Regions from separate parts of the Homo sapiens genome. Here all the other regions are linked to region 1. The links are contacts of gene promoters, found by promoter capture Hi-C in blood cells and fetal thymus (Javierre and others, 2016). All regions are on one chromosome and are shown on one strand. The core of a region is centred on a gene start or on the middle of the fragment in contact, and the rest is flanking DNA. Distances in the headings are between cores, read along the strand shown. Region 1 holds the start of DHX9 (DExH-box helicase 9). Region 2 overlaps MR1 (major histocompatibility complex, class I-related). Region 3 overlaps IER5 (immediate early response 5). Region 4 overlaps TSEN15 (tRNA splicing endonuclease subunit 15). Region 5 overlaps RGL1 (ral guanine nucleotide dissociation stimulator like 1).

Region 1 (4,516 bases), core at 979-3,478:
CTGAGTGGCCACAGTCTAACTCTGGTCATCCATTTGGCGAAGGGAATGTCCTATTAACAAAAAAGCCGTGGAAAGCTGAAAATGTTTATCTGGAAATTCCACCTCGTGAATAATTAAACAACAAGCCCTCATGGTGAATGAGTAATATGAAATACGAAGGACTATACTATCAAACTCCTGTCTCCCTAGTCTCTTACAACCCCATAATGTTCAATACCAACTACATGCTATCGATGCCCAAATACATATATTTAAACTTTAGTCTTTTCTCTCTTTTTTTTTTTGAGACGGAGTCTCGTTCTGTCGCTCAGGCTGGAGTGCAGGGGCGAGATCTTGGCTCACTGCAACCTCCGCCTCCCAGGTTCAAGCGATTCTCCTGCCTCAGCCTCCCGAGTAGCTGGGACAACAGGCGCCCGCCACCACGCCCAGCTAATTTTTTGTATTTTTAGTAGACACGGGGTTTCACCGTGTTGGCCAGGATGGTCTTGATCTCCTGACCTCTTGATCGGCCCGCCTCAACCTCCCGAAGTGCTGGATTACAGGCGTCAGCCACCGCGCCCGCCCGTCGTTTCTCTTTAAAGTCCAAAATTAAGTTCATCCAACTGTGGCACTAACTCACCCATTTGCATGCTAACTTGGCATCTCAGTCAAAACAGAATTTTAAATTTCCCCTCAAATCTGTTCCAACACCCTACCCCTACATTTCGGTTTCCATAAACGGTACGACATCCACCAAGTTACTCCTGGCACAAGTTGAGAGTCGTCCACTCCCTTAAGATTCTCCATAGCTATCCCTTGTAGAACCCTTAATGTGTGTCAAACAATATCCATAATAGATCATCTAAATGGAACTATTTTACTTAATCCTTAGTAACCTTGTACAGGTAAGATCACTATCCCTTTAGAGAAGGGGAAACTGAGACAAAGAATATCTTGCTTCAGGAAGACAGAGCTCCTAATTATAAGAGCAAGAATTCGGGCGGGCGCGGAGGCTCACGCCTGTAATCCCAGCACTTTGGTAGGCCAAGGCAGGCGGATCACGAGGTCGAGAGATCGAGACCATCCTGGCCAACATGATGAAACCCCGTCTCTACTAAAAATACAAAAATTAGCTGGGCGTGGTGGCGCGCGCCTGTAGTCCCAGCTACTCCGGAGGCTGAGGCAGGAGAATCACTTGAACCCGGGAGACCGACGTTGCTGTGAGCCGCCATCGCGCCACTGCACTCCAGTCTGGCGACAGAGCGAGACTCTTGCAAAAAAAAAAAAAAAAAAAAAGGCGCAAGAATTCCAGAAAACGTAGCCTGACTCCAGATCTACTACCTTCCACCACTACGCATTTCTGCTTCAAAATACGTCCCCTATCCATTCGTTTCTCCCCATCTCTCCTGCCACCACTACTGCACACCCGGGCTAGTGAAATATTGTCCTACACGGTTTTTGTTTCCACTCTTGCCACCCTAAAACCCATTCTCCTTTGAAGGCCTTCTCGCCACACTCCAGTCACATGGCCTGCTTTCAGCTCCCGCCCAGTTTCTGCCCTTAAGCGATAACTAATCCCTTCCGCTTCTGCAGGCTCTGCTTTTCCTTCGCGTTGGCCGAGGTTATCAGCTCAAAGCCTCCCTCCTTCGAGACGCCTTACCTCGCTATACTAGCCAAAGGCGCTCTCCCTTTACATTCTTCAATTTTTTTTCCTCTACCCACAAGGCCTGCACGACGGCGCCAGTTATTCGTGGCTTGAATGAATGAAGAGCCCTAGGCCAGTGGCGCCCCGGCGGCAACCACCACAGGCGAAGCACCCCCTTCCCTCAGCCGCCGCGGTGCCCCGGCGTACGCAGGCCAGAGGAGGAAGCGCGCTTTGCCTGCTAGAGGCAGCAGCGGGAAACGCTGGGCGGAGGAGAGGGGAGGGGGCCACAGGCTGCCCGGACGGCGCAAGCGCATCGCGGCGAGGCGCGCACGCAACCCGCAATCCGGGGACCCGCGGGCGGCTCGTCCCTTCCCCCACCCCCAGCCGCCGCCGCCGCCCGCGCTTCGCAACAAAGCCGGCTGCGGAGCCATGGTCCACGGCGCCCGCCCGCGACCCCGCCGCCCCGCATGGTAGCCGGAACGTCTCTCCCTTACCAGCCTTCGCTTCCTGGTGCCCAGCTCTTAGGACCGTGTGTGACTCTGGCCTTCTACCGAGACAACAGAGAAACGCACAGCAACTCGCATGGAGGAATCGGCGAAATGGCTCCGACCGCGGCGCTAGGGGGCGGGGCCAGCGAGCGTACGCATGCGCAGAGCGCGTGCCAGGGCGGGGGATGGCGAGGGCGCGCCAATGGAGGGGGCGGGGCTCAGCAACCTCGCGGCGCGGAAGGGTTTCGTTGCTAGGGAGATGGGCTGAGCCGGGCGGGCATCGCGCCAGACCTGCTACTCTGGATAATCCACTCTCCTGGATAATCCACTACCCTGGATAATCGGCTGCCCGCTTTTGCGCATGTTAGGGAGTTGACGGCCTGTAGCATTCTGATGCAGCAAAATATTTCGCAGGGTCTGTCATAGGGATCTCCGGTGAGAGGAGGTTCCCTTCGAAGGCAGAACTGGAAACCTTGCTGCTAACTTGGTAGGGTTGTTGAGATAATTACATGAGATGGCATATGAAGGGCGGCTTAGTTCAATACCTGGCATGTAGTAGGTGTTCAGTGGGCGTAGTTACCGGATTGATTCAGATAGTCTGAACGCCAGTGTCTCTTGAAAGAAATAAACTGGCCGGGCGTGGTGACTGTAATCCCAGCACTTTGGGAGGCCGAGGTGGGCGAATCACTTGGGGTCAGGAGTTTGAGACCAGCCTGGCCAGCGTGGTGAAACCCCGTTTCTACTAAAAAAAAAAAAAAAAATACAAAAATTAGCCGGGCATGGGGGCGGGCGCCTGCAATCCCAGCTGCTTGGGTGGCTGGGCGGGCTCCTGCAATCCCAGCTACTCGGGAGGCTGAGGCAGGAGAATCGCTTGAACCCCGGGGTCGGGGGCGGAGGCGGAGGTTGCAGTGGGCCGAGATCACGCCATTTTCTGGGCGAGAGAGCGAGACTCCGTCTCAAAAAAAAAAAAAAAAACCATGAAAGAAATAAGCTCAGTGAAGGCGGGCATTCTGCCTGGCTAACGCAGGTCGCTCCTTGCCGTGCCTGGAACATTACTGTAAGTGCTCAGCAAACTACTTTAAGGTAGGAATAAAATCTGCAAGGTTGCTTTTGTTTAAATTGGATAACCTTTTGTGTTCCAAGTCTTTGGAGTAATTTTGTGTTCCAAGTCTTTGGAATAATTGTGTCCTTAATTATTATACTAGTCACTGTTAAATTTTGAAACTCCAGTGCGTCCCATGAAGGTAATGATACAAAACATTTCCAGCTGGGATTGTTCCAGGGAATCCAGACTAATCAATTATCTGGGCTCATTATATCTATGGATCTTTATTTTTCACCTCTTTCCTTATGTTTTTCTTAATCCTTCTAGCTGATAGTGATCACTCCCTTTAAAACTGTCATTCTTAAAATCAGAACAACATAGTTTATCATTTACTTATTATTTTCTTCATGTGATTGTTCTCCTTAATTAAGAATAAAATCATTGAAGGAAAGACCTTAATTTTTTTTTTTTTGTACCCTTCAGGGTGTTGAAAGCAGCAGGGGCCTAGAAGACATTAAACCGATACCACAGAAATACAAAGGATCATTAGAGACTATTATGAACAACTATATGCCAACAAATTGGAAACCAAATGGAAATGGATAAATTCCTGAACAGATACAACTTACCAAAATTGGACCAAGAAGAAATAGAAAACCTGAAAAGACCAACTATGAGTAATGAGATTAAATCAGTAATATAGAGTCTCCCATCAAAGAAAAGTCCAGGCCCTGATGGCTTCACTGCTGAATTCTACTGAACAGTTAAAGAAGAACTCATACCAGTTCTCAAACTCATCCTGTGAGGGCAGCATTACCCTGATACCAAAACTAGATATGGACACAAGAAAAAAAATCTATAGGCCAGTATCCCTGATGAACATAGATGCAAGAATCCTCAACAAGACCAGGTGTGGTGGTTCATGCCTGTAATCCCAGCACTTTGGGAGGCCAAGGCAGGTGGATCACCTGAGGTCAGGAATTTGAGACCAGCCTGGCCAACATGGCAAAACCCTGTCTGTACTAAAAATACAAAAATTAGCCGGGCAAGGTGGCGTGTGCCTGTAATCCTAGCTACTTGGGAGGCTGAGGCAGGAGAATTGCTTGAACCTGGAGGGAGGAGGGGCAGAAGTTGCAGCGAGCTCAGATCGTCCCACTGCACTCCAGCCTGGGTGACAGAGTGAGACTCCATCTCAAAATAAGTAAATAAATAAAGAGACTCAACTAGCATAAATGAATTGCAAGTGTTTTATAGTATATAATGAGCACAACAAAAGTATCAATATATTACATGGAAATACATTTTTCAAAGCTGGATCTTTAGCTTCCAAGGATTAAGGAGAATTTTGTTACTGAGTTG
Region 2 (4,516 bases), core at 1,090-3,589, 1.8 Mb after region 1:
CACATAACAAATAAATGAATTCCACCACACACGGCAACAAGCAGCAAGCGCCAGAAAAGAGTACCAATGGAGTGCTCCAGCCACTAGGAGAAGAGAGACCGTGGTCCCATGAGAAGGGATCCACTGGGAAATGTTCCAAGGAGGTGGCAGATCAGATGGGCCTTCAATGAGGCATAAAGGGCAGCAGCATCTTAATCATAGTCATCACAACTGTATTTGTTTATTGAGCACATACCTTGTGTTAGGTACCATTTTAAGCCCTTGATAAGCATGGGTTTCACTTATTCTTCTAACAAACTTTTGAGGTAGGTCTTATAATTCCAACCCACAGATAGAAAATAGGTGCAGAGAGGCCGGGTGTGGTGGCTCATGCCTGTAATCCCAGCACTTTGGGGGGCCAAGGCAGGCGGATCACCTGAGGTCAGGAGTTCAAGACCAGCCTTGCCAACACGGAGAAACTCTGTCCCTACTAAAAATGCAAAAAATTAGCTGGGTGTGGTGGCGCATGCCTGTAATCCCAGCTACTTGGGAGGCTGAGGCAGGAGAATCGCTTGAACCCAGGAGGCGGAGGTTGTAGTGAGCCGGGATCACGCCATTGCACTCCAGCCTGGGCAATAAGAGCAAAACTCCATCTCAAAAAAAAAGAAAAGAAAATAGGTGCAGAGAGATTAATTGCCCAAGATCATCCTCAGAATCCATAAGTGAAGGAACCAGGAATCACACTGTGATCTCTCCATGGGAAGTCCCTCTACCTTGAGACTACCCAACCCTCCCTAGTGTAGGGGAAGCTTTCCAGGCCAGGCTTCTAGCCCCTGGATTATCACTGCTCTCTCCTGCCCCCTTGTGTCAAGGATGACTCACTGCCTCTGATTTCCCAGTCCCTGGGGCCACAGGCTCCAGACCTTCCTACACACAGGTGGCCGTGAGTCCTGATTGGATAACCAGGTCAACACAGTCTGATTATTTATTGGCTCTCTCAAGAAGTCCAATGCCTTAATAAGGTCAAAATGATTATGATTCCTGGGAATGACTCTTTAGAATTTCGAGCATCGTGGGAATGAGGGGAGAAGTAGGTGGCAATATTTTTAGTTAAGGGGACCTTTGGACACATCTCAGGCCATGTTCATGGATGGTTCTATGTGCAGCAAGAACCATTAGTCCCCTCTCCTAATGACATGTCTAACTAACTACAGGAACTTAGAGCATAAAAGTGGCGACTGTGACAAGTTTGGCTTGTGAGCTACTCTTCTGAGGCTACCCTTTTGAAGGTTGCCAATGTCTCACTTCATATAGGTATATTCTTTTCTGAATGTCCAATAAGCACAGTCCTAGCTGCTGGAAACAGAGCAATGAACACATGAAAGTCCCAGCCCTGTGAGATAATTTCTAGACAGGAGATTGGCAATAAATACATATATAATACAAGGTCAGGTGGAGATAAAGATTATGAAGAAAAGTAAAGCAGAGAAAAGAGAGTGTGGAGAGGAGAAGGCCTGATCTTTTAGATAGAGGGACCACAGCAGGTGGCATTTGAGCAGAGATGTGAATGGAGTAAGAAAGTGAGCCCTGTAGGACTATGTGGAGTTTTGGAAAACGAATGAATGAGCTCTGGTGTCTTTTTTCCCTCAGTACTCTCTGTACACAATGATGACTATATGTCTTATGTTTCCCAGAAAATCCCGATTTTATAAATTTTATTTTTCTAAAATGATCCTTTGAAGTTATAACAAAATGTGACTTAATATGTATACTCTTGAAAGATTTTCCCCGATAAATATAAATTCATACATCAGAAAAAACATCCTTTGTCATCTTTCTCAATTTGAGTTCCCTAAAATAAGTGTTCAAAGAGTCATGTGTTTGATCTTTAACTTAGGCTCCTTTCCTCCAGCTCTTAGCAATACTGTGGGGTAAGAGGATTGGGGTCAAGTGAGAATAGACAGATATTTCAACTAGTCAAAAGAAAAATCTACAAATTAGTTGAATTTCTCAAGTTTAGATAGATTCAATGCCAATTAAGAAGAGGGCCTTAGGGGAGTGAAACATTGTCTTGGAGAAATTTCTATGGCATATACCTTGGCAACAGCTCCATGGAAACAGACTGAAGTCTATCTAATAAAGTCTAAAGAAAAAGCCCATATTTTCTCATGTTAACTCTTTGAACTCAAGGTCACTTCTAAGCAGATAATATGCAAGTCTGTTTTTTAACAGTAACCCAGTTGGCAGCTTAGGGAGCTTATCCATCATCAGACCTCGCCTGTGAAGGACTCCACCATTCATGAAGTAGATTGATATAGCAGATTTATACAGCCATAAAATTATGAGTAATATCAAGAGACTGACCTTGGTTATGTCGAGATGAAACATACAAATCACATATGGCAATGCATGAGAAATCTCATGCCAGCCCCCAGTCTGATTACACCCACCCATATCGCCAATTCACAGTTTCACACAGGCTGAAATGAAGAACAAGATGAGTTGTAAAAGCATGAAACACCTTTTTAATACAAATCCTGCAACTACAGTAAGCCACAGTTTTGAATTTGCAGTCGTTATTACTGCCCGAGCTCTCTATGGCTCCCAGTCAAATAACTGTGATTTCTTAGGGACATTACCTCCGAACATAAATTCACTCAGCAAACATTTACTAAGTGCCTGTTGGGCACTAGGTATACCAGAGAAATAAGAAAAAAATGAAGATATCTCTTTCTGTCTTTAAGGAGAGCCTCAAAGAGAAGATTTTTGTAAATGGAAAATTACAGAACTGTGAACAGGAGCCATGGGAGCACAAAGGAAGGAGGAGTCAACTGCAGGCTGTGGAGTTGATGAAAGCAACACACTGAAAGTGATATTGGAGTTATGTTGACATTTCCTGGAGTAATGACCCACAACCCTGCAGTATCTCTTCCCCGTGTTTCCCCATCTATTACTGGTATATAGCTCCCACTCAGGGCTAGCACTAGGCATAAATATCAAGTAGACTGAGTCTTCTTTCATAATCTCATATCCTTTTCCAGCCAATATCCCTCAAAGCCCAGGAATGTTCAGTTAGGGTCCTAGCAGGAAACAGCCTTCAAGCCAGATGGGTCATGTGAGGAGACCTTAATGAAGGGACTCCTTGCAGAGATATGGTCAAGGTTAACGGAACAAACAAGGATGATGGGCATCTGCAGGCTAACAACTATGGGAAGCCATTATCACCCCTAGGGCTTAAGAGATAAGAATAGCAAATACCGTTACTGAAGCCCAATGGGAGCTAGAACCATGAAGAAGGGGTTATTCAGGGAAGACAGCATTACAGAAGAACATAGCTACTGCCAAAGACATCACAGAAAGTGGGGAAGGAGCAAGAAAGATGTATCCCAGCCTCTCTTTCCTCCCTGCTCTCTGACATCTCTCCTTTCAGTGTCTCCCATTGTATGAACCCAAGCAGAAATCAGCTTGCAAGAGAGTCTAGGTGATGCAGTCTAGCAGTCAGCCTCAAGGACACAGAACAGAACAGAGAAGGATGCACTCTAAGGAGTCAGAAGGAGAACAGCCAGCACCAAGTGACCTTCCCTTGCCTTTATAACTTACTTGTTTTATTTCCTGTCCCCCCAATTATCAAAGTGACAAGTCTTCACACCCAAAGGAGCAATGACATTGTGGAACAGCCCTGGACCGAGGGCCAGAAGATCTGCAGTCTCCTTCAGGTTGCTCCTTATGTGAGCGTGGTCACTCTCTAGGCCTAGAGAAAAATCTAGGCCTCATCTTTAAATGGGGATATTTTCTTCACCTACTACAAATAGTCAGTGAGATTGTCATAGGAGATAATATGTTTAAGGAATATTATTCCATATTATTGGAGAGTTCTTTGAGAATCACATGCAGGTAATATATAAGCTTTATTATTTCCAAAAATATCACCCTTTGCCTCTCTCCTCCTTTCCTCTTTCATCTTCTGCCTCTTACCCTCACCCCCAATCTTTCCCATAAATGATGACACTTTCTGGATTAAATTTTCATGGAAGCAGAGACTATGTTTGTCTTGTTCGCTGCCATATCCCCCAAAGTGCCTGGCACATAGTAGGCCATCAATCAATATTTGAACAATTAATATATGGATTTTTTTTTTTTGAGATGGAGTCTCACTCTGTCACCCAGGCTAGAGTGCAGTGGCATGATCTCGGCTCACTGCAACCTCCGCCTCCTGGGTTCAAGTGATTCTCCTGCCTCAGTCTCCCGAGTAGCTGGGATCACAGGTGCGCACTGTGCACAGCTAATTTTTTGTATTTTTAGTAGAGATGGGTGTGCCGAGCTAATTTTTTGTATTTTTAGTGAGATGGGGTTTCACTATGATGGCCAAGCTGGTTTCAAACTCCTGACCTCAAGCGATCCGTCTGCCTCGGCCTCTCAACGTGCTAGGATTACAGGTGTGAGCCACCACTCCCAGCCATATGATTTAAAATTTTTTTATTTGTATAAATTTATGATGTACACATGCAATTTTGTTATAGCATAGATTGTGTAGTGG
Region 3 (4,516 bases), core at 1,305-3,804, 1.7 Mb after region 1:
AACAAATGATGGTTTCTAAAAGGGAAGACAGGGTTAAAACAACATGGTTGAGAAGTACATACTAGGCCGGGGGCAGTGGCTCACGCCTGTAATCCCAGCACTTTGGGAGGCCAAGGCAGGTGGATCACCGGAGGTCAGGAGTTTGAGACCAGCCTGGTCAACATGGTGAAACCCCGTCTCTACTAAAAATACAAAAGTTAGCCAGACGTGGTGGTGCATGCCTGTAATCCCAGCACTTTGGGAGGCTGAAGCAGGACAATCGCTTGAACTAGGGAGGCAGAGGTTACAGTGAGCTGAGATCACACCACTGCACTCTAGCCTGGGTGACAGAGCAAGACTCTGTCTCAAAAAAAAAAATACATTACTAACATTTATCCCTTTATTCTCTTTTTTCCCACCACCACACCTGGCTAATTTTTATATTTTTAGTAGAGACAGGGTTTCACCATGTTGGCCAGGCTGGTCTTGAACTCCTGACCTCAGGTGATCCACCTGCCTCGGCCTCCCAAAGTGCTGGGATTACAGGTGTGAGCCACCGCGCCCAGACTTTATTCCCTATTAATGTGATCTTCTTGGAGTACTTGTTGGAAAGCACTTTAAACATCTGGCTTTTACGCAGCAGTCAGAAGGTTTTTTTACACCCCAGAGCTAAGGTTAATTTGATCAAGAGACTAGGTCCCTCCCAGAGTGGTGAAGAAGTGGTTAGGTACTAAAACCATGGCATCGTTTCTAGTCACACTGCATCTGATTTGGTTGTGTGATAGCCCTAGGTTGGCATTGGGAAGGCTCTTGTCCAGAACCTATCAATAAGCATGTTTTAAACATTCCATGCGCAATAATTCAAGCAAAAATAACTTTATGGGCTACTTTTTTCTTTACTCATCCACAGAAAGCATTTGTATGTCAACAAGAACTTTGCTCCTTGCCTGTTTTCACTTCAGCTTACTCCTCCCTGAAAATAGAGTTGTTTGATACAATTGGAAAAATCATCCGGTTGGTGTGAGACATTCACAGCAACAAAACTATGTTGGTAGAACAAAGCTTCCTGACTGCCAAGTGTCCAGAGAAAAAGAGGAATAAAAGAACCCAGCATTCACACATAGGACCACTTAAAAATAGATTCTCCATTCTCCTCTTTTCTTACAAATACACACAAATCTTTGACCACAGTGTATCTGATTTATACACAGAATTAACTTCTACATTAACAATAATTAACAGTTGCGTGCTTATTACATATGAGGTACTCTTCTAAGAGCATTAACTCATTAATTTTCACAACCCTATGAGACAGATCCAATTATCCCAATTTTACATTTGAAAAACCTGAGGCACAGAGAGATGAAGTAACTTGTCCAAGGACCCACAGCTAGGTGGCAGAGCCAAGATAGAAAAACCCAAGCAGGCCAGGTTGTGGTGGCTCATGCCTGTAATCCCAGCACTTTGGGAGGCTGAGGCAGGAGGATTGCTTGAGGCCAGGAGTTCAAGACGAACCTGGTCAACATAGCTCACTTTATATTTACTTTTTATAATTAAATAAATAAATAAATAAAGGAAGACACCAAGCAGCCTGGCTCCAGGGCCCATGCTCTAACTACTATACTATACTGCTTCTGCAACAAAAAAGAGAATGATCTTTTCTAATTCCTACAAAGCTTTATCCTCCTATCAAGTATGCCAATTTACATTCTTTAAGCAGACACATGGACCCAGGTTCATCTTAATGTAAAACCAAGGATCAACTTTAGTCTCATCCAAAACACATCAGCTCTCTTAAACACACCAAACGTTACCCCCTTTAAAACATAAAATACACTGAGATCGCTGTTCAAGCATCATACTTTCTAACAACAGGAAATGTTTGCAGAATTAAGGCCCTGGACACCTTCTTCAGTTTAAGCAGTCAGCACTTGATGGATCTTTTGTAGCTGTAACAGAATTTAAGTAGCTACTTTCTGAAAGAAAAAGTCAGTTTAACAAGACCCTAATTTGAGAATGTTTAATTCTATAAATACATTATTATGGCGACAGAGCATAAAGTACAAAGTTCCCTATGCTTAAGGAACCACTAATAGATTTGCCGAAATATCAAGGCACGAGGCACTGGCCTATTCAGCTAAAACAGAAGTTCGTATAATTGGGAGTTAAGGCCAAGACACCATTCATATGCCTCTTATGCTCGAAGGCTATGACCTTTAAACCTTTGTCTTTCTTCAATCTCTCCCATCTTTTAAATACCCTATATACTCGTAAGTTGTTAGAAACCAGTACCATCTTTTAAAGTCCTGGCAACTGTACCGTATTTTAATAAACACCATTCCCTAATTGATTTGCTTCTGAAATAGATTACTGAATACCTTTCAAACATTGAACATGAAGAGACAAAAAACTCTCTTAATGGCAGTGATTTTAGTAAAATCGATGGATGTTTTGGCTATCATCACCTAAGTGTCTACCATGACCAAACACTGATGTCACCATTTAAGTAACAAAACAAATCAGGAAGTTTTGCTAAATGAGAACTAAATTTGCCTAGCCCTCCTTCCTTATCTGGTTTGATGCAAACAATTTCCCTCTCAGCAATATATTTACTTTCTAGATGTAAGAGAAAAACTGAAAATTTACATCCTGACATCCACTGTGATGCAGAGGTGGACCTGACAATTTGGACAAGTCAGTCTCTTTCATCTTCCTATGTCAGTTCGAATGGGCTTTTAAGGTAAACTACTATCTAAACTTTTTTTTTTTCAATTACAAAGCTAAAAGATGACCCGTATTAATAGCTTAACAGGAAACAAAGTTTTGCTGAAAAACATTTTTGTGGATAAGCGGGGCTTCAAAAGTTGGTTAAATTACTTAGTATTAGACACCCACATATTGGGTGACAAATTGGTCTAAACTGACCTTAGAAAAGGCAGTTGTAGTGGCAGGTTTCTAGAACCTGACAGGTCGCCGATATTAGTATCTAATAGCAGTCCTCTGATCTAGGAGGAAAAATTAAACGTGTCTCTCTTGATACTTAGTGGAGTCAGTAAACAATGTCCTCAGTCTGCGAATGACTGATACTAAGAACCACACCTTCAATTTTCTAGCTCAGGCCCTGGTTTCCCTCCTCCCACTTCCCTCCCAACCCAGGCAGGTTATTACAGACAAGCAGGCAGTTACGTTGCTTCAAAATATTTAATACGTGTTAGACACGTAGAAGTTACATTTTTATACAAAAATCAATACAACGAAGGAGAAAATACTGTACAAAAACCTTATCAGCTCCCCCAACCTTTATACAACAAAGACTGGAGTCACCATATCTACAAAACCATAAGGTCTTTCCACTTCGGGCTTCTGTCTGTAAACTCTCATTAAACACTTTTTAAAAGCACTGTGTAGTACTTCTGACCTAGAGCTTTTAAAAATATATCTTTTCTCTATAAACTCCATTATTTCCAAGCTTGAACTCTTCTGTGAAGTTCGTCAAGCTTTTTCTCCCCTGCGGGGAAGCAAAGGACCGTTAATACGCCCCTTTCCTAGAGTAATCACAGGATATAAACGTTTCTTCATTGGGAGAGAAAGGTGGGGAGGGACAGAAGGAATCCAAGTCTGTGCTCTTGGCTAAATCCCTCTCGTCTTAGGAAATCCTGTGCGGAAACGCCACTCCTGGCCCTGAAGCGGGTCTAGCTTTCCGGTGAGGGGTAGGTGTAAAGTCCCTCCCTCCCCGGAGAACGAATGGGGAACTCCCCGGCCCAAACCTTTTAGCCGCTTCCTTCTCCACGCAGCCGGCAGAGGAAAGTCCCTGTCTGCCCCCAATCTCTTAAACCCTGGGGAAGGAGTGGTGCATTCCAGAAGAGCAAAATAGTCTTAATGCCACAAGACAAACTTACATACACAGACATACACAAACACAAAAGTTAACGATCGTCCTCTTCCAATGAGCCTCAAGCTCCCAGGTCTCCAGATAAGCCAGATGCGCCCGGGGGCAGTTTGCGATGCCCAGAGGCAACCAGTCTGCCCAACGCGCTCAGCGCCCGCGGTCTCTGGGCGTCCTCGCAGCCGGGAAGGGCCTGGCCCTCACTTCGGGGACGCCCGCTGCTCCACCTCCTCCCCGCAGGGGGGCCAAGGGCTCAGAAGGCCACGATGGCTGTGCTCCAGGGGTTCATGTCTCTCAGCACCGGCTTATCGCAGCAGATCTGCCCGGGCTCGGCGGCTTCCGGACCGCTCTCCTCTCCCTCCTCTTCCTCTCTGCCGCCCCCGGGGCTTTTCCGTAGGAGTCCCGAGAAACTGGAACCGAAGATGCTGATGAGGTTAGCCACGTTCCCGGTCTCCATCTCCTCCGCGTCGTCGTCCTCTCCTCCACTCGGCGGCTGCTCTAAGTTCCGGCGGGGCTTCTTGAGCGGGGTCGAGCCGGGCGCCGGGCAGCCCGCTGGGCCGCCGCCCACCCCCGCCGCGCAGCGCTTCCTGGGGCACACCGCGGGCGGCGCGGGGGGCTCGTCCTCCGCTGGTTGCGGCGCGCAGCAGCAGG
Region 4 (4,516 bases), core at 1,477-3,976, 1.2 Mb before region 1:
CACTTGAACCCGGGAGGCGGAGACTGCAGTGTGCCGAGATTGTGCCACTGCACTCCAGCCTGAGTGACAGAGCCAGAATCCATCTCAAAAAAAAAGAAGGTATAAAGGTATACATGTCCCAGCTATTCTTAGGAAAACTCTCATACATGAGTACAAGGAGGTACTCACAAGGCTATTCATTAGAATACCATTAGTAATAGCAAAAAAGTAAAAACAATGATGGCCTTCATAATCTAAATAAACTTTCCCATCTAATTTTCCATCCTTTCCCTCTTTTCTCTGAAATTTTATTCATTCATTCATTCATTCATTTGCTGCCTTAAGGAATATTACTAGACACCTACTCTGACTAGACACCATGCTAGGTAGGCAATCATGCTTAATTACTTGCAGTTACCCTACTAAACCATGGTCTCTTACTGGCTAAAGAGACTTTTCCTGTCCTTCCTCTGGGTTTTGACATAATTTTGTACATATCCCTGTTAAACTACTTATCAGTACTCCATAATACTTGTTATTCAATTATCTAGCTACAAAATAAGTGAAGGCAGTCCCAAATCACACATTCAATTAAATATCTGAACAAAGGGCAATTCTGTTTTTTAAAATTCCATCCAACAATTACCAAAAAAAAAAAAAAAAGTATTTTCTAAGCGAATATTCAGTGCTAGAATACTACTTTCATGAGGATGTCATGAAAGTATTTGTTATCATGGTATCCCCAGCACCTAGATCATTGCCTGACACATAAGAGTCACTCAATAAATAATTGTTAAGACCAAAAAGCCCAAGCAATATTATCTGACAAATAATAATATTTAAAAGTGAAAACAGAATCGTTAATTTATGTAGATGTTTTATCACTGAATAAGTAAAAGCTGTTTTCCCTCTTAAATAAAAAGTATTTTTTCTTTCATGGTGAGTTGCCCTCACATCTTCCCACCAAATACTTTTAGGACATGTCCCAATGAATTTCTTTGCTATACAAGGTTATCAGAGACTCAACATCAATCATTTTCTTCTCTGTGTTACTAACACAGAAAAATTCCCACATTAACTATGAAAGGCTGGAATTGCAGCATTACTGTTAGATATATAACATTTTATATTATAAAATACACTAAAAGTAAAAATAGATAAAAGTATGCCTACTACCTAAAAGACTGCCCTGTTAAAGACTGAATAATGAAATCACACATACACACATATACACCCACACATTTCCATTTGTTAAAAAGTTATTTGCATAGTTTGAGTTGAGAAAATGTTATGCACTAAAAGGCATATAAATCTAGTATGTATCAGGCCTCATTTGTGCTACATTCTATATTAGTATTCTACTGTATAATATAGTTAAGAATATTTATATAAAAACAAGACATAAAGATTTAAGCTCTCTCAGTTATTAAATGCAACAGCATCAAAATGGCTTACCAAGTTATCATTCCAACTAATTCTACTTGAAGAAGAAAACAAGCTTTAGCCATTCAAGCTAGAAAAGCATTAATTACCACCTGGAAAATACTAGAAATTAACAATGGAAACAAATTTGTACTTCTAGACTTATGAAATGATTTTGATTAAAATAGGCTATTGCTTTCATTAATTTTATTTTTTAGGAATAAATGCAGGTTAATTTCAAATAGTAGCTCCTTGTCCAAACAAATAATATAACATTAATACTAGCTAGGACAATATTTGTTACAGTAATTAAAAGACAGAAGTAATGAGTTCTGAGGAATGAATTAAGACTCTTGGATATAGGATGGCTTGGAAATCATGCTAGTAAAAACCGGAAAGTACTAGCGATTAAATCTGATGTCAATGCTAACAACTATTTGTAATTCTCAAACACAGAGAAAACAGTAAGGAGCTTCTCAAAGAAGCATATGAATAGACTGACATATTAAAAAACAATTCTCATTATGAATAATAAATACAAAAAATACTTCATAGAAATCTGCAAATTTAGTTTAATATGGCTTTATGAAATATGCACAATGAAAATAACCAGTTACAGCAGCTTTAATTTAGAAGGGATCTTGCATGTACTGGTAATCTAAATCCCTCAACAACAAAATAAGACGAGGAAACTGAAACCCAGAGAAATTAGGTGTGTTGCTAAACATCAAACAAAATGTTAAGTGTCAGTCCCAAGACTAGAACCCAGGTCTTAAGACTTTATAGTCTGGGGCTCTTTCTACTAGACTGCTATGTATTCAGTCATAGTCAGCTAGAAAAAATGTTAAGTATTCATCAACGGTATTCATGCTGGAATTTAAGAGGCTCTGCTCTTTTCCCTACTTATATGCCACCCAAATAGAGCTGTGTTTTCATTTGTTCATTCTTCCCATACCCCACTCTCAGAGGTTTACAGCACCCCTTTACATGCTCAATATTACTCTCCTCCACTATCCTCTTGAATCCATCCTTCCTCATCTCTCAAGAATCTTGCTCCATCAATAATTGTCATCTCTTTTCTATTTTCAGACTTTCTGTAGGACAGCTCACGTGGCAGCTGGCTTCCTTTATAGTAAGCAAGAGAGAGTGCCCAAGATAGAAGCCACAGTCTTTTGTAACCTAATCTTAGAAGTTACATTCCTATCATTTTTGCCAAATTTTATTCATTAGAAAGAAGTCACTGAGTCCAGGTCACACTCAAGGGAAGAGAGTTACATAAGGGAGTGAATACCAGAATTAGGAGAAGCCATCTTAGAAGCTGCCTGCTACAGCTTCTAAAGAAGAAATGCATAAGGGAGGCTTGCTAACCAGATACCAAGACTTCTTACCAAGCAAGCGATTAAGAGATATGGTATTGGCAAAAGGACAGATAAACTGGCTAATGGAATATAATAGAGAACCCAGAAACAAATTAATGCATGTTTGGAACTTTGGAAAGTAGCAGAAGTGATATGTCAGATAGTGAGGAAAGGAGGGACTATTCAGTAAATGGAGGTAGAAAAAGTGGTTATCCACATGACAATGGTATCCCTAACCGCCTCTCACACCATTAAAAACAAGAACAATAGAACTCTTAGTGAAAATATAAGTATTTTTTAGACCGTTAGATAGAAAATATTTCTTAAACTAGACACAAAGACGTTGATTATAAAAGATGGATAAATATGATTATATTCAAATTAAGAACTGTTACTCATTGAAAGACATCTTAAGACAGTGAAAGACAGACTTAAAAACTGGAAAACACAATAAAAAAACTATTAGGTCAAGAATATATAAAGAATTCATACAAGTCAATGAGAAAACTAAAAACAACCCAACAGGCAAAAGATATGAACAGATATTTCTTATAAATAATACATATATAAAGAAATATTCAGTATTATGAGTAATAAGGGAAATGTAAATTAAGACCAAAATAAGAATAATCCATTCCATTGGCAAAAATTTAAAAGTCTGACAATACTAAATGTGAGAGACAATACAGCTCCAAAGGATCTTATTTACACTGCAGGTGAAAAGTAAATTGAGGCAACCACTTTGAAAATAGTTTGAAATTATCTCCTAAAGTTAAACATTAGCAACACTCCATCATCGAGGGAGTGGATGTAAAAATGGTGGTATAATCACACAATGGAATGTTATGTGGCAGCTCAAAAAATGCACAAGAATGGATGAATTTTAGTAATATAATATTAAGTGTATAAGGTCAGCCTTAAAAGATAAGATTTTTTAATTAAAGTTAAAAACATCTAAAATTTAAAAATTCCCAATGTACATGGAATTCAGAATGAGTTACCTCAGGTCAGTGAAAGCACGTTAAGGAAGGGACTTATAAGATTAGATGTTAGTTATTATCAAGAATCTAGTTTTGCTTTGGGTGATGGGTACAGAGATACTTATTACATTATTAAAAATAACTAAGTAAATAAATAAAAACCAAGCATGAACTAATAATGAGAGTATGTCATGAAACAAAGACATGTTTAATCCAATGCTGTGTACCTAAGCTTTTTAAAAAAAGGTCCTAAAAAAAGTCTCTTTTTTAAAGCTTTTAAAAAAAGCTACATGAAAATTTGATTTCAGCTTGCATGTTAATCATGCTTTTCACCAACTGCTATATAAAGTATAATTTGTATTACATGGTACATCTTATAACAGCTGTTATTTCATATGTAATGGTCTTGCTTCCTTACCAAGAATATAAATATTTCTACCATACATACTGTCTCTGAAAAAGTACTGACCATAGAGTAAGTGCTAAATAAATACTTGTTGAATGCTTGATATACTTTGTATATTTGTTCCTGCCCAAATCCCATGTTGAACTGTAATCCCCAATGTTGGAGGTGGGGCCTGGTGGGAGATGTTTGGGTTATAGGGGTAAATCCTTCATGGCTGAGTGCTGTCTTCAGGACAATGAGTTCTCGTGAGATCTGGTCATTTAAAAGTGTGTGGAACCTCCCCCTCAACACTCTCTCTCACTCCTGCTTTTGCCATATGATGTGCCTGCTCTTGCTTCACGAACTTCCTCCATGATTATAAGCTTCCTGAG
Region 5 (4,516 bases), core at 1,408-3,907, 1.1 Mb before region 1:
AAGAGGCGAGTGATAAAGATGAGGAGAGATGTGGAATTAGCTGTGGGATTTTGCTGCAAAGGATAAAGTGATTTCCAATACATGATTATCTCCCATAAACTAAGGAGTTTATATTCTTGTGATAAACCTACCAGACCTCACATACCCAAGGTTATCGCCATGAGAGGCTCTGTGTGTATTCCCAAAAGACTGCCATTATTAAAAATATCTTTGCAATTGTCCTCAGAAACACACAGATTTTACAAGAAGCTCAAAAAGGTCAGTCTCATTTTATAGGCATCGTTCCTCATTAACCCAAACTGTATTTCTAGCTTGATCATCCACTTTATTAACTAGGTTTGATCCAAATGACTAAATGACAAAAATCTGCCATCAGGGGAGTACACTGCTAAGAATGTGTGGAAATTCAATGATAAAACCAGACATATAATTCCATAGGAAGGCTTCCAAAAATGTGTGAGGTTGTGTCATCCTCCCTGGAGCACATTTACACTGTCACCCAAATTGAGAATTTTCAAATGGCTAATACTGACCTAAACGAATAAGTTTTAGCATTTCTTTAAGATGTGAAAATTATATCCTATATACACCATGTGTGTGCATATATATGTATATATATTTTATATACATATATCATTCAGCATCTATGCCCAGGGAGACCTGGAACTGACACACATCCCTTCTGTGTGAATGCATATATGTATATGCTAATATTGAGTGTGCATATTTAGGGCTATTAGTCTGAGCGGCCGACAGACACAGACACACAATCTAAATGGAAACCCGCTCCTGGGTCAGGGCTTGCTCCTCACCATGATGCTCTTGTACATGTTGCCGTTATTGTCTTCCACACTGATGCGGATTATGCAGGTGTCTTCATTCTGTTGGTTGTAAACAGGAGGCAGCACAGTCGAGGTAATGGACGTCACCGAGACAGAGCGCTTGTGGATTTTGGGGTTGTTGTTGCAGGACGGAGGGGAGGAGAGGGGGTTGATTAAGGAAGACATCCCTGAGGAATTTGTGTCCATGGAATGGATAGAAGAACAGGATGAGGAGGACTCAGAGAGCTGGAAGAGTAAACACACCCCAGAAGAAAACAGATTAGAACGCTGGCCAACAGCTTTGCAATTTTCAAAGCAGAGGTAGATATCAAGACTGATAGACTGCAGTTATTTCCTCCACAACAGCCCACAGCACACATGTGTCTCATCCCTGGTGTAAGTACTCTGAGTCCCCATCAGTGGTAGATGCCTATCGGTGACTCAGTGTGACCTAATCACTCTATAAGCACGTGAGGCAAAGCAGTTCTATTTCCCTAGGTTTTAGCTGTTCTTATAGAAGTTAACCAGCAGGTGGCAGCAGACACCAGAAACTGGAGGCAATATGGGTTCCCAAAGAAGTCAGAAGCTTACGGGGCTGGAGGAAAGCCTTGCCAACGCAGTTGATTCAGTCCTACTGCAGTCAGATTTCGTAGTGAGAGAGAAAGTTCTGTATTTTTAGAAGTTTCTAAGAGAAGTACCCCAGATTATACGGCTCTGCATTGAATATTAGTGCTAGAAAGGCCTTGGACATCAACTAGTCCCATACCTGTTCTGCTGAGGAACCTGAGACCCAGGGAGAAAACTGGGGCTCCAGGTCCACACAGCTAGTTGACAGCACCCCTAGAACAGGAACCCAAGCTCCCTGATTCCCACTGTCGAGTTCCCAGAGCAAGCACATGGCCAAGGCTCAGCCTGTGGCTGATGACAATAAGATGAATCAACATAGTATGCTGCTACCTCGGTATGTTTAGTACTGTGAGGCTTATCATGAACTTTCATATTATCTTATCCCATTTTAATTCCACAACTGTCTTGTGAACAAAATGCAGAGCATTATAAAGACGAGGAGAATAAGATTCAGAATATAAAAGTGACTTGCTCAAGGGAAATACAGCCTTTAAGCAGCTTCACCACTTTCCACATTTGCTAGTAGAGCCAACTGTATACATTTTCATGATGTGTATCAAGGACAATTAAGAAATGGAGTACTACAGTTAATATGCTTTTCTGATTAACTACACATTTCTCATCCATGCAATACCAATAACCAAAGAAAGAAGTTATTGGAAGAGGTACTTTTAAAAATCATTAAATTGAACCATTTAAAATACCCATTATTATTGTAGAAAATTATAAAGAATTTCCCGGAATGACTTAAGCTAAATTATACCATGTTAATCCTATAAAATATTCTGGAAGTCATTTATAAAATAAATAACATTTCTTTCATATTTATCTGCCTTTCCATGGAAACAGTATAGAAGTTGAGCTTTCTGGTTATCAGGCTTCTGATTAAAATGGAGTCTATTATCTTATTTCCTGTAGATTTCCTCCTGTGGCATAATTATACATTCAGTTCTATTGCACAGTTAGTTTACAGCCAGCCAGCTGATGTGACAATTCTCATGGGTAGGGGTCTGATTGTGGCTCTATCATAATATGGTTTAGTTTTTGTTTTGGTTTTTGGGTTTTTTTCTTCCTTATGTTCCCAAATGAATCAACTTAGTGGCTCAATTTGAGGACTAACTGATGATAGATAAGTTAATAGCATAAGTTTCTTTGCAGATATATTAGTTAAGGGGGTGCATTTTCCAATTATTCATTCAATTTTTTCGCCTTCATGTTCCTCTATCCAAACTCTATTTCCTTTGTTAGATTTTTCTATGATTCTAGTGACATTTATAGTTAAGATAAAGCCTAGAATATGCCTGGGTTATAGCAGCTCTAAACAGACTGCCTGATGAGCCCCCAAATTCCTATTGAGAATTTAAGAAGTGAGGAGCAAGTGCAAAAATCAATATTTAGAAATCATGATCGGGGAATGAAGAAAGGAATGCAAATAAATTACACTTCACCCTTAAGAGCAACCTCACAGTGCAGCCTGTGGAAAAGGAAGAATGACAGTCTGGAGGACTTTTGGAGAAGGCGGCTGTCACAGGCTCTCAGGTCAGGAAGGAAGTGTGGAGGTCAGCTCAGTCCAGCTATGTGCCAAGCAGGAGAATCACGAGCCTTTCTAGCTAATATGCAGGGATTGTGCAGTCCAGGAGCTACTTGCATCCAAGTGAATCACTGATGTTTAAGAAATGTATGACTCTGAGAAAGGTTCATCCAAAGAATAAAGAGCCATGACTTCTGCAAGAATTTAAAAAGCCAGTCTGATGAGGGATGAGACAAAAAAGATGAAGCAAGGGATGTGCAGGAGAAAGCACACTGGGCTTCTGCATAGTTTTAAAAGGTACCATTTGGACCAATGTACATTTCCACTATGCCACAAGGTGTGACTGTGATTCCATCTCCTTCCTGGAGAGACAGGGAGAAATCCCACAATAATGTGGGCAATACCTCAGTTATTACTTTCCTACAATGTCTACCATCAGAAATGGAGCCTATAAAACCTCAGAGGCTGTGAAAAAGTGAATGATGAGACTGCATTCCAGATTTTGACAAAGCTAATTTGTATGTCAAGTCACGAAGAATGACTACATCCCGGGTTGAGGAAAAATGCCTTTTGAGAGCATGGCCAGTCCGTAGGTGTCCACGAAGGCTTTCTTTCAATATTTAGAGCATGAATGATTGTATCCCCTGGATTTCAAAGCAGAAAGCTAAGAAATCCAACTAGAGCAGCAAATTAGTCATCTCAGTTTGATGAATCCTGAATATGATGCTTTTCCTGGATTGGCTACATTATGACAAAGTCACTTGAGGGTTCCAGGATTACCACTGTTGTTTTAACACCATGTGAAGCAACACACATGTCCCCTTGAAGAGCAGCAGATATAAACCAAGGGATGAAACCATTGCCAACATTCTACCTTACTGACCTAACCATAAGCTAAGGAGCCAGAAGTCACTATTGAGTAAGCTTGGTTAGCCAGAAACCTTCCCCAAATGGTGCAAATTCTAGTTATGTCATAGTTGACTTTCTGATCCAAACCCTTCAACCAACAGATTGAAGCAGATGTGTACAGAAGATTAACACTGATATTGGTGGGGTGCGGTGGCTCATCCCAGCACTTTGGGAGGCCGAAGTGGGTGGATCACCTGAGGTCAGGGGTGTGAGACCAACCTGGCCAACATGGTGAAACTCCATCTCTACTAAAAATACAAAAATTATGCGGGCATGGTGGCACATGCCTGTAATCCCAGCTACTCGGGAGGCTGAGGCAGGAGAATCCCCTGAACCCAGAAGACAGAGGTTGTAGTGAGCCAAGATCGTACCACTGCATTCCAGCCTGGGCAACAGAGTAGTGAGACTTCATCTCAAAAAAAAAAAAAAAAAAAAAAAAAAAAGAAGACTGGTCTTAATTAAGATCTTAAGATTAAGATATTTTGGTTTTTAAATTTTTATTTATGCAGTCACAGAAAATAGAAACTCGACGGAAATTCTTTTATCACCTCTCATCAGTTTCCTTTTTTCCAACATGGGAGAATGTATCCTTGTTACCAATCCCTCATCTTCCCCTGCAGCTGTGCCC

What was found. The method cuts DNA at HindIII sites, captures the fragments that hold promoters and counts their contacts. A CHiCAGO score of 5 or more calls a contact.
Region 2: a fragment that was not itself captured here is called in contact with the fragment with the promoter of DHX9 in region 1 in 1 of 17 cell types (naive CD4 T cells); the score reaches 5.5 in naive CD4 T cells.
Region 3: a contact is called between a fragment that was not itself captured here and the fragment with the promoter of DHX9 in region 1, in 3 of 17 cell types (activated CD4 T cells, non-activated CD4 T cells and total CD8 T cells). The highest score is 6.6, in activated CD4 T cells.
Region 4: a fragment that was not itself captured here is called in contact with the fragment with the promoter of DHX9 in region 1 in 1 of 17 cell types (total B cells); the score reaches 5.4 in total B cells.
Region 5: a contact is called between a fragment that was not itself captured here and the fragment with the promoter of DHX9 in region 1, in 1 of 17 cell types (total B cells). The highest score is 5.2, in total B cells.

The regions. Positions count from the first base shown.
Region 1 is chr1:182,837,059-182,841,574 of GRCh38, reverse strand. DHX9 (DExH-box helicase 9) reads right to left here and starts at 2,228. Exons shown (of 28, transcript NM_001357.5): 1 at 2,119-2,228. It overlaps DHX9-AS1 (DHX9 antisense RNA 1), which reads left to right and starts at 1,984. Exons shown (of 2, transcript NR_148933.1): 1 at 1,984-2,263; 2 at 3,641-4,516. RefSeq lists a silencer at 1,909-2,338 and an enhancer at 1,762-2,603. The HindIII fragment of the contact is 6,331 bases long and covers 1-4,516 here.
Region 2 is chr1:181,034,940-181,039,455 of GRCh38, reverse strand. The region is part of intron 1 of MR1 (major histocompatibility complex, class I-related); the gene reads right to left. Among named protein-coding and RNA genes, the nearest start is that of MR1, 3.2 kb to the right of the region's middle. The HindIII fragment of the contact is 3,097 bases long and covers 791-3,887 here.
Region 3 is chr1:181,089,489-181,094,004 of GRCh38, reverse strand. It overlaps IER5 (immediate early response 5), which reads right to left. Exons shown (of 1, transcript NM_016545.5): 1 at 1,105-4,516. The coding sequence ends at 4,119. Among named protein-coding and RNA genes, the nearest start is that of IER5, 3.0 kb to the right of the region's middle. RefSeq lists silencers at 3,498-3,792, 4,367-4,516 and an enhancer at 3,807-3,976. The HindIII fragment of the contact is 1,793 bases long and covers 1,658-3,450 here.
Region 4 is chr1:184,055,159-184,059,674 of GRCh38, reverse strand. The region is part of intron 3 of TSEN15 (tRNA splicing endonuclease subunit 15); the gene reads right to left. Among named protein-coding and RNA genes, the nearest start is that of TSEN15, 5.7 kb to the right of the region's middle. The HindIII fragment of the contact is 2,494 bases long and covers 1,480-3,973 here.
Region 5 is chr1:183,912,998-183,917,513 of GRCh38, reverse strand. It overlaps RGL1 (ral guanine nucleotide dissociation stimulator like 1), which reads right to left. Exons shown (of 18, transcript NM_001297671.3): 16 at 813-1,067. Among named protein-coding and RNA genes, the nearest start is that of RGL1, 110 kb to the right of the region's middle. RefSeq lists an enhancer at 1,280-1,469. The HindIII fragment of the contact is 2,496 bases long and covers 1,410-3,905 here.